3 separate regions of the Homo sapiens genome follow, and all the other regions are linked to region 2. The links are contacts of gene promoters, found by promoter capture Hi-C in human tissues and cell types (Jung and others, 2019). All regions are on one chromosome and are shown on one strand. The core of a region is centred on a gene start or on the middle of the fragment in contact, and the rest is flanking DNA. Distances in the headings are between cores, read along the strand shown.

Evidence for each region. The method cuts DNA at HindIII sites, captures the fragments that hold promoters and counts their contacts. A contact is called where the count stands out against the background at its distance.
Region 1: a fragment that was not itself captured here is called in contact with the fragment with the promoter of POLL in region 2 in 1 of the 25 tissues and cell types used here (spleen).
Region 3: a fragment that was not itself captured here is called in contact with the fragment with the promoter of POLL in region 2 in 2 of the 25 tissues and cell types used here (adrenal gland and mesenchymal stem cells).

Annotation. Positions count from the first base shown.
Region 1 is chr10:101,357,402-101,360,101 of GRCh38, reverse strand. All of the region lies in intron 1 of BTRC (beta-transducin repeat containing E3 ubiquitin protein ligase), which reads right to left. Among named protein-coding and RNA genes, the nearest start is that of BTRC, 4.6 kb to the right of the region's middle. The HindIII fragment of the contact is 4,092 bases long and covers 1-2,700 here.
Region 2 is chr10:101,586,970-101,589,669 of GRCh38, reverse strand. It overlaps POLL (DNA polymerase lambda), which reads left to right and starts at 1,413. Exons shown (of 9, transcript NM_001174084.2): 1 at 1,413-1,848; 2 at 2,264-2,424. The coding sequence starts at 2,310. DPCD (deleted in primary ciliary dyskinesia homolog (mouse)) reads right to left here and starts at 1,349. Exons shown (of 6, transcript NM_015448.3): 1 at 1,270-1,349. The coding sequence starts at 1,333. RefSeq lists enhancers at 1,064-1,393, 1,494-1,773. The HindIII fragment of the contact is 10,926 bases long and covers 1-2,700 here.
Region 3 is chr10:101,422,560-101,425,286 of GRCh38, reverse strand. All of the region lies in intron 1 of BTRC (beta-transducin repeat containing E3 ubiquitin protein ligase), which reads right to left. Among named protein-coding and RNA genes, the nearest start is that of BTRC, 70 kb to the right of the region's middle. The HindIII fragment of the contact is 5,073 bases long and covers 1-2,727 here.

The sequences.
Region 1 (2,700 bases), core at 133-2,632, 230 kb after region 2:
GCCTGGGTGACAGAGTGAGACCCTGTCTCAATTAAGTTTTTTTAAAAAAAAGAGATCTCTTTTGAAAGTTTATTTTCTAATTTAGCAATAAATAATTTCTAAAACTACTCAAAGTTGAATTTTTACTCCACATCTAATAATTCACTTTTGATAATTTATGAAAATCTACTATAAACATAAATTTAGAAAATTAGCAAAAAGAGGCCGGACACGGCAGCTCACGCCTGTAATCTCAGCACTTTGGGAGGCCAAGGCGGGCAGATCACCTGAGGTTGGGAGTTCGAGACCAGCCTGACCAACATGGAAAAGCCCTGTCTCTACCAAAAATACAAAATTAGCTGGGTGTGGTGGTGCATGCCTGTAATCCCAGCTACAGGGGAGGCTGAGGAAGGAGAATCACTTGAACCTCAGAAGCAGAGGTTGCAGTGAACTGAGTTTGCACCATTGCACTCCAGCCTGGGCAACAAGACCAAAACTCCATCTCAAAAAAAAAAAAATACAACAAAATTAGCCAGGCAAGGTGGTACACGCCTGTAATTCCAGCTACTTAGGAGGCTGAGGCAGGAGAATCATTTGAACCCAGGAGGCGGAGGTTGCAGTGAACCGAAATTGTGCCACTGCACTCCAGTCTGGGCAACAGAGCGAGACTCAGGGTATCTCAGACAAAAAAAAAGAAAATAGGCAAAAAGAATTACCACTAATTTCATACCCCAACACCTATAAGAGTACCCAGAAAACAAACTGTTTGAAAGCCAATTTAAACTGGGAATAGGTAAAGTATACACAAAAACTCAGACAACTTAAACTAAGAACTAGTTTCAGATGTTCATCCCACTACCTGGTAATCAATTTCACTGATGTAAAGAAAATTCCATTACAGTGAAACATCTGACAATTTATTTTAAAATGTAATCTGTTTAGATACCTCTGTTTCCTGAAGTAAGTAAGCAAGTTTACTTAATCACATTAATTCACCCAGTATTATGTCAACAGTGACATCATTAAGGGAAGTCACGCAGGAGATCATGTTAGTGCCTTCCGAAGTTAACCTCAAAAAAAGAGATGCCTCCTAAACATTCCTAGCATTATGACCCACAAACTTGGCCGATACCATTTTTATTTTTAGCCTTAACATCCAACTAGCATAGCACCTACGGTAGCAAGTCTCAAAAGGTGGCCCCCAGCAATTCCCCCTTCCTTGTTTATGCACGCCACCCTTCCTATCAATAGGTAGACATTATTTCTCCTCCCTCTGTAGTTGGCCTTGACTGGCTTTGACCCACAGTGACATTCTTGGACTTCCAAATCTAGGATTTAGAAGACTGGCAGTCTCTACCTCCTGTCTCCTGGAATGTCCCTTCTTAGAACCTTGCCACCACACTTTAAGGAAATCCAAGCAGCCAGGTAGAGAAAGGCCCATATAGAGGAGAAGTGAAGGTCTTTCCCACACCTCAGCCAATACCAAGTGAAGCAGAAAAACCATCAGATTTGAGGGGAAAAATAATTGTTTTTTTTAAGCTAAGTTTTGAGGTTGTCTGTTAAACAGCAAATATTTACCCTTTATACTGTTTCATTTATCTATCAGCTCTATAAATAAAACAATACATTCTAAAATTATTTCATCTATTTCAAGCTACTGTACTTGATTCTGGGATTGGCTGGACAAGAATATATTTATCCTGTTTTTAAAAATAAACGTGGCTTGGCAAGGTGGCTCACGCCTGTAATCCCAACAATGGGAGGCCAAGGCAGGAGGACCCCTTGAGCCCAGGAGTTCAAAAACCACCCCTGTCAACAAAGGGCGACCCTTGTCTCTACAAAAACAAAAAAGAAAAAAAAAATAGCCAGCATAGTGGTGTGTGCCTGTAGCCACTTGAGACGCCGAGGCAGGAGGATCATGTGAGCCTGGGAGTTTGAGGCTGCAGCAAGCTATGACTGCACTCTAGCCTGGGCAACATAGTGAGACCCTGTCTCAAAGGTGAAAACAAAAATAAAGTTCAAATTCCTCCTCAGTATGTCTTTTCAACCCCTATCTTAAACGTGCTTGTGTGTGTGTGTTTGTGTGTTTTGGGGTCTATATTCCCTCAATCATTTTCATTTCTCTTCTTAGGTTCTCTTCAAGTTTCCATTTATACTTTTGTTAACCAAAAAAGTATTAAGAAAGGTCCTTGAGGACCTGCTAAAGCTGAATGAGAGACATTAGCACGTAAGTTAATGTAAACCGTTGCTTTCAATATCATTTATTTGTTTTTAAAAGTTAAACATTCTGCTTAAACTTTTTTCACAAGTAAAACAATAAGCTTTAAGTCTCGATCACGTGTGAATTATGGTCATCTCTGAATCAGCAGTCTTATTAACAGGATTTTATTGTAAAATTCTTTATCAAGGCACTTTAGTATAGCAATGAGCAAATTTGTGAGAGTATCCATTTCATTCTGGCATTTTAAACTAATTTTACATTTGTTTAAACCATGGAAATCATGACATCTGTATAAAAGTTGTCATTAGCGATTCACAATTGAGGGAAAGGTTAAGACCAGAACAAAGCCAAATAGTAATAAAAATGCCCGTTTGATTAAAAGGATAGTTCTTCCATGTGTACTGTGCACTAATTATTTGATGCTAGCTCAAATAGCTTCCTTTTTTTTTTTTTTTTTTTTTGAGACAGAGTCTCGCTCTGTCACCCAGGCTGGAGTGTAA
Region 2 (2,700 bases), core at 164-2,663:
TGGCCTCAAGGGATCCGCCCACTCGGCCTCCCAACATGCTGGGATTACAGGCGTGAACCACCACATCCGGCCATAATTTCCGTATTTTTTGTAGAGATGAGGTTTGGCCATGTTGCCCAAGCTGGTCTCGAACTCCTGAGCTCAAATGATCCGCCCACTTTGGCCTCCCAGAGTGCTGGAATTACGGGCGTGAGCCACTGTGCCTGACCTTATTAATTCTTTAGGACCCAGAAACATCATCACTTCTGTTGGGTCTTCCTCCAAAGAGATGTCACTTACACCTTCACTCTTTCCTACCATTTTATACAAGACTACAACCTCTATTTAACGCTTCTTATTATTTAAGTACATGTTTTTCCCAACCACTCTGAGTCCTGGGACAACATATCTTTTTCTTTCTGTTCTAGTTTAGAGCTTGGCACATAGTAAAAGTCTTCCTAAATGTTGCACGAACGAGTAAATGATTTTAATTTCCACAAACTCCAGGCTTCCCTGATTGGCCCCTGCCTGTGAACATGAGTCACCAGTTGTTATCTTGAAAGCCTCAGGAACTTCAGACGCAATTCATCCTGGCTACCCAGTGGGTCCAGAAAGGACCCAAGTGCACAAAGGGGCCGGCATCGGCCAATCCTAGGGTGGGGAAAAGTTAGGTATCCATGCCCCTGTGCCCACTTCTTCCAGGCACAGCCCTTGGTTCTTGCTCTAGCTCCCCTAAAGACACAGAAAATATTTAGAAGTTCACTTAACAAAAATATTACAGCTGGAAAGGACCTCAGAGATAACAATGGTAGTCCATCCACTTCATTTTATAGATGAGGAAAGTGAGGCCCAAACAAGTAAAGGAGCCGACTGAAGCGCCCGTGGTGAATTAATGGCACAGTCGGAACTAGAGCCCAGGCCTCTCTCCTCTCTAAAGTCTAAAACATTCTTGGATTTCAGTTTCCTCTTCTGTAAAACGGGGTGAAAATTAGCCTCTCAGGACAGTGGTGAGGAGCAAATGAGATAATGAATGTAAAAGAAATTACTATATTAGCAACAGAAATCAGAGCGGAGCGAGATGGTGTAGAGGAATCTAAGGGGTGTCCGGAGACATGTGTTCCAGTCATGTCATCTCTGTGAACCTCAGTCTCCTCATCTGCAAATGCAGGACCTGGCCCGGCTGACCGCCGAGACCCTTCCAGCTCTGCCGACCCAGGCCCTGAGGCCCTTCCCGGAGGGCCGGACCCTGAGGGAAAAAAACGAAGGAGCCCGTGGGGACCCTCGAGTTACCGTCCTGCAGCAGCGCAGTCTTCTGGGCTGTCCGCAGACTCTCCAACCAGCCCGTCACCGCCATCTTTCCCCTGCTAAGCAGCACGCCCAGCCGCTGCCATGGCAACCGTTCCAGAGGGTCACTTCCGGCTGACTCGGAAGCTATTCTGGCCATTTGCCCTCCTTCCCCCCTTCGTCCGCTCTCATTGGCTCTGCTGGTAAGTGGTCTATTCCTGCCCACCCCCGGGTGACTAGCTTGGCCAGTAGTCGACCCCACCCGGGGACCGACTCTGGGGGTTGGAGAGACTCTTGGGGCCGGGGTCGGGCACTCCAGCTTTCTTCTAGCCCCGAGCTGGGATTCCCTGGCCTGCGCCAGCTGCGTACACGGCGAGTACACCGCACCTGCCCGGGACTTCACCCGCAGCTGCGAGACTCCTCCATTCCCGGAGGGCTCCCCACACCTGCTGCGGCCGTGCCCCATCTCCCCGCAGCTGCGGCGCTGAGCACCCCCATGTCGAGAGGCTGAGACCAGGACAGGTGCAGGGCGTTCCCACTCACCCCCGAAAGTCCTCCTCCTTCCTCTGCGAGTCTGTGTTGGAGGTAGAGAAATAGTATGTGGGGTTTATGTGCAGGTCCTCCCCAGGCTCCGCTCCATCCCCTAAAGCTCCATTTCCTAGCCCAGCATCCCATTTGGTAAAGCCCTTCGAAGTGGGCCGCAGCAGGGCTGTGCTGAATCTTTAGCGCAACCCCTCTGAGGAATGGTGTCGTTTCCTACTCCTCAAAAGTACCCCCGATGGCACCAGCCTTCCCCTCATTTCCCGTAATACTCCAACTTCGAAAGGCTGGGGAGTGTGAAGCTAGGCTAAACCACTGAAGTTTAACCGGGTTTGAAGAGACCCCCTCCCCCGACCCGCTTCCCCAAACTGGGCTGCTACCCCCAAAGCCTGGTCAGGAAAGACCCTACCTCCATAGGCAAAGGGGTTGGAGGGCCTCAATTCTGGATTTCCACGTGCAGCAGCCCTGACCAACGCTCCAATAGGCCGGGATCCAGCCATACTTCAATGGATCCCAGGGGTATCTTGAAGGCATTTCCCAAGCGGCAGAAAATTCATGCTGATGCATCATCAAAAGTACTTGCAAAGATTCCTAGGAGGGAAGAGGGAGAAGAAGCAGAAGGTGAGCTGACCCAGTCTCAGAACCCTCGTGTGCTTGAACCCACAGCCTTCATGTGCTTCAGCCCTACGTTGTTTATGTCCAGAATCAGATATTGGAGCTGACTCTGCCTGTCCAGGGCCTGCAGGTCTGTTTGTATCTACCTTGTGCTAAGCTTGGTCCTGGGTCTTGGACAGGCTATTTGCTGTGTTACCTTCTTTTCTACCCGAAGACCTCTATCCATCAGAAAAGACTCCCTGGGCCCTCAGGGAATGACCAGTATAATTTTTGCCCTGAGGA
Region 3 (2,727 bases), core at 104-2,603, 160 kb after region 2:
CATGTTTTCTACTACCTGAATCAGAAAAAAAATTGAAATGCTGCAATGCGATAGTAAAGACACAGAATCAACCCAGGTACCCATCAACGGAAGACTGGATAAAGAAAATGCAGTACACATATACCATGGAATACTAAGTAGCCATAAAAAATAATGAAATCATGTCCTCTGCAGAACATGGATGCAGCTAGAAGCCATTATCCTAAGCGAACTAATGCAGAAACAGAAAACCAAATGCCACATTTTCTCACTTATACATAGGAACAAAACCTTGAGTACACATGGACATAAAGAAGGGAACAGACACTGAGGAATACAAAAGGTGGGAGGACAAAGGGGGTAAAGCTTGAAAAAACTACCTATGGGTACTTTGCACTCTCTACCTGGGTGAGATTCACTCAGACTCCAAACCTCAGCATCGTGCAGTATATCTCTGTAACAAACCTGCACATATACCCCAATTTTAAAATAAAAGTTGAAAAAACAAGATTGCAATGAAGGGCCTCCAGTGCTTCAAGAAGAATATAGTATCTAGTGCCCATCAGGTTCAATGGCACAATTCATTTACACAGAGAACACTGAAAATCTCAACTCTTCCCCCTACACTTGGCTGTCTGGAGTAATGTCACAGATCCTCTTCACTGATAGCCCTGCAGGCAAAGGGCTAGCCTCAGCATTTACTATACGAAAGCTGAATGACAAAATCTCCTAAATTAAGGTCCCTGTTGGTCAACTTCTAGGAGTAACAGAAGCTATAATAATCAACAATAAAAAGATTGCTGTACTGAGAGTTTACGTATCCTTAAGCCATGGAATAGAAGAATTCCCTTTTCACTACTATATCAACTAAGAAATTCAGAGAAATGCAGTATACCATAATCATGTAATACATTCAGACTTTACCTACAAATCCAATGATTGCCTCTTAAGAATCCCAATTTAGTTCACTCCAAAAACAAAACTCCCACCTGTCAGATAGGATAATCATATCTGCCCAGCCTTATTGCACAAGGTTGTGGTAAAACTAAAACAAGGATTCTTTTTTTTTCTTTGAGACAGAGTTTTACTTTTGTTGCCCAGGTTGGAGTGCAATGCCATGATCTCGGCTCACTGCAACCTCCGCCTCCCAGGTTCAAGTGATTTTCCTGACTAAGCCTCCTGAGTAGCTGGGACTGCCGGCATGCACCACCACGCCTGACTAATTTTTGTATTTTTGGTAGAGACAGGCAGGGTTTCTCCATGTTAGCCAGGCTGGTCTCGAACTCCTGAACTCAGGTGATCCACCTGCCTTGGCCTCCCAAAGTGCTGGGATTACAGGCACGAGCCACCTCACCCGGCTAAAATAAGGATTCTAAAAGCTGCAAAGTGCAAAAGAAAAAAATATAAATGGCATCATCACCAGGAATAGGCTTCTGTGAATGCCACTTGCATTTCAAACTGTTCTGGGAAGCCATTTATTTTTTCATTACCAAAGTGGGCACAGGTGGAGTACAAAAAGAGGATAAGTAAAGTTTACCGGGAATAAACTGTCTGCCAGGCATTGTACTAGATCCCTTAAGTACATTATTTCATTTAAGCATTACCTTCTTGTCAAAGAATTATTAGTACTTTTGCCTTAACAAGAGAGTACACTCAAGTTCAGTGAAGTTATAGTGCCTAAATGACAATGGCAGAAATAATACTCAAATGTGTTTGTCTCCACAAATCCACAGACTCAAGTAGTTTACACTCTATTTCAAGGAGATAAACTACTAACAAATAGTAACTACAAGAAAAAATTTAACAATGTACTAAATTGCATTAGACAACAGCTACTATAAGTTTAGGTAAATTTTCAAATATTTAGAAAAGCTCAGTCACAGACTTTAATTTTATTGTAGCACTTGTTACTATATGTATAACAAACTAACAAGCTGCATCTGTATAACATTCTCTGTATAACAAACTAACAAGCTTTGTTAGTTAGCTTTGTCAGTCTAACAATTCATTGTTTGGCAATGAATTGCGGAACAAGCTCTTCCCCAATTCATTCACCTGTATAATAAACTAGTAAGGTAAATAAGACCCAGAGAGGGTCAGGCAAGGTGGCTCATGTGTATAATCCCACCACTTTGGGAGGCCAAGGTGGGAGGACTGCTTGAGACCAGGAGTTCAAGACCAGCCTGGTCAACATAACTAGACCCCATCTCTATTTTTATGAAAAACTGGAAAATAAAAAAAATTTAACTTAATTAAAAAAAACTCATGGATAGGAAGAATCAATATCAATACCAATGACTTTCTTCACAGAATTGGAAAAAACTACTTTAAAGTTCATATGGAACCAAAAAAGAGCCCGCATTGCCAAGTCAATCCTAAGCCAAAAGAACAAAGCTGGAGGCATCATGCTACCTGACTTCAAACTATACTACAAGGCAACAGTAACCAAAACGGCATGGTACTGGTACCAAAACAGAGATATAGACCAATGGAACAGAACAGAGCCCTCAGAAATAATAACACACATCTACAACTATCTGATCTTTGACAAACCTGACAAAAACAAGAAATGGGGAAAGGATTCCCTATTTAATAAATGGTGCTGGGAAAACTGGCTAGCCATATATAGAAAGCTGAAACTGGATCTCTTCCTTACACCTTACACAAAAATTAATTCAAGGTGGAGTAAAGACTTAAATGTTAGACCTAAAACCATAAAAACCCTAGAAGAAAACCTAGGCAATACCA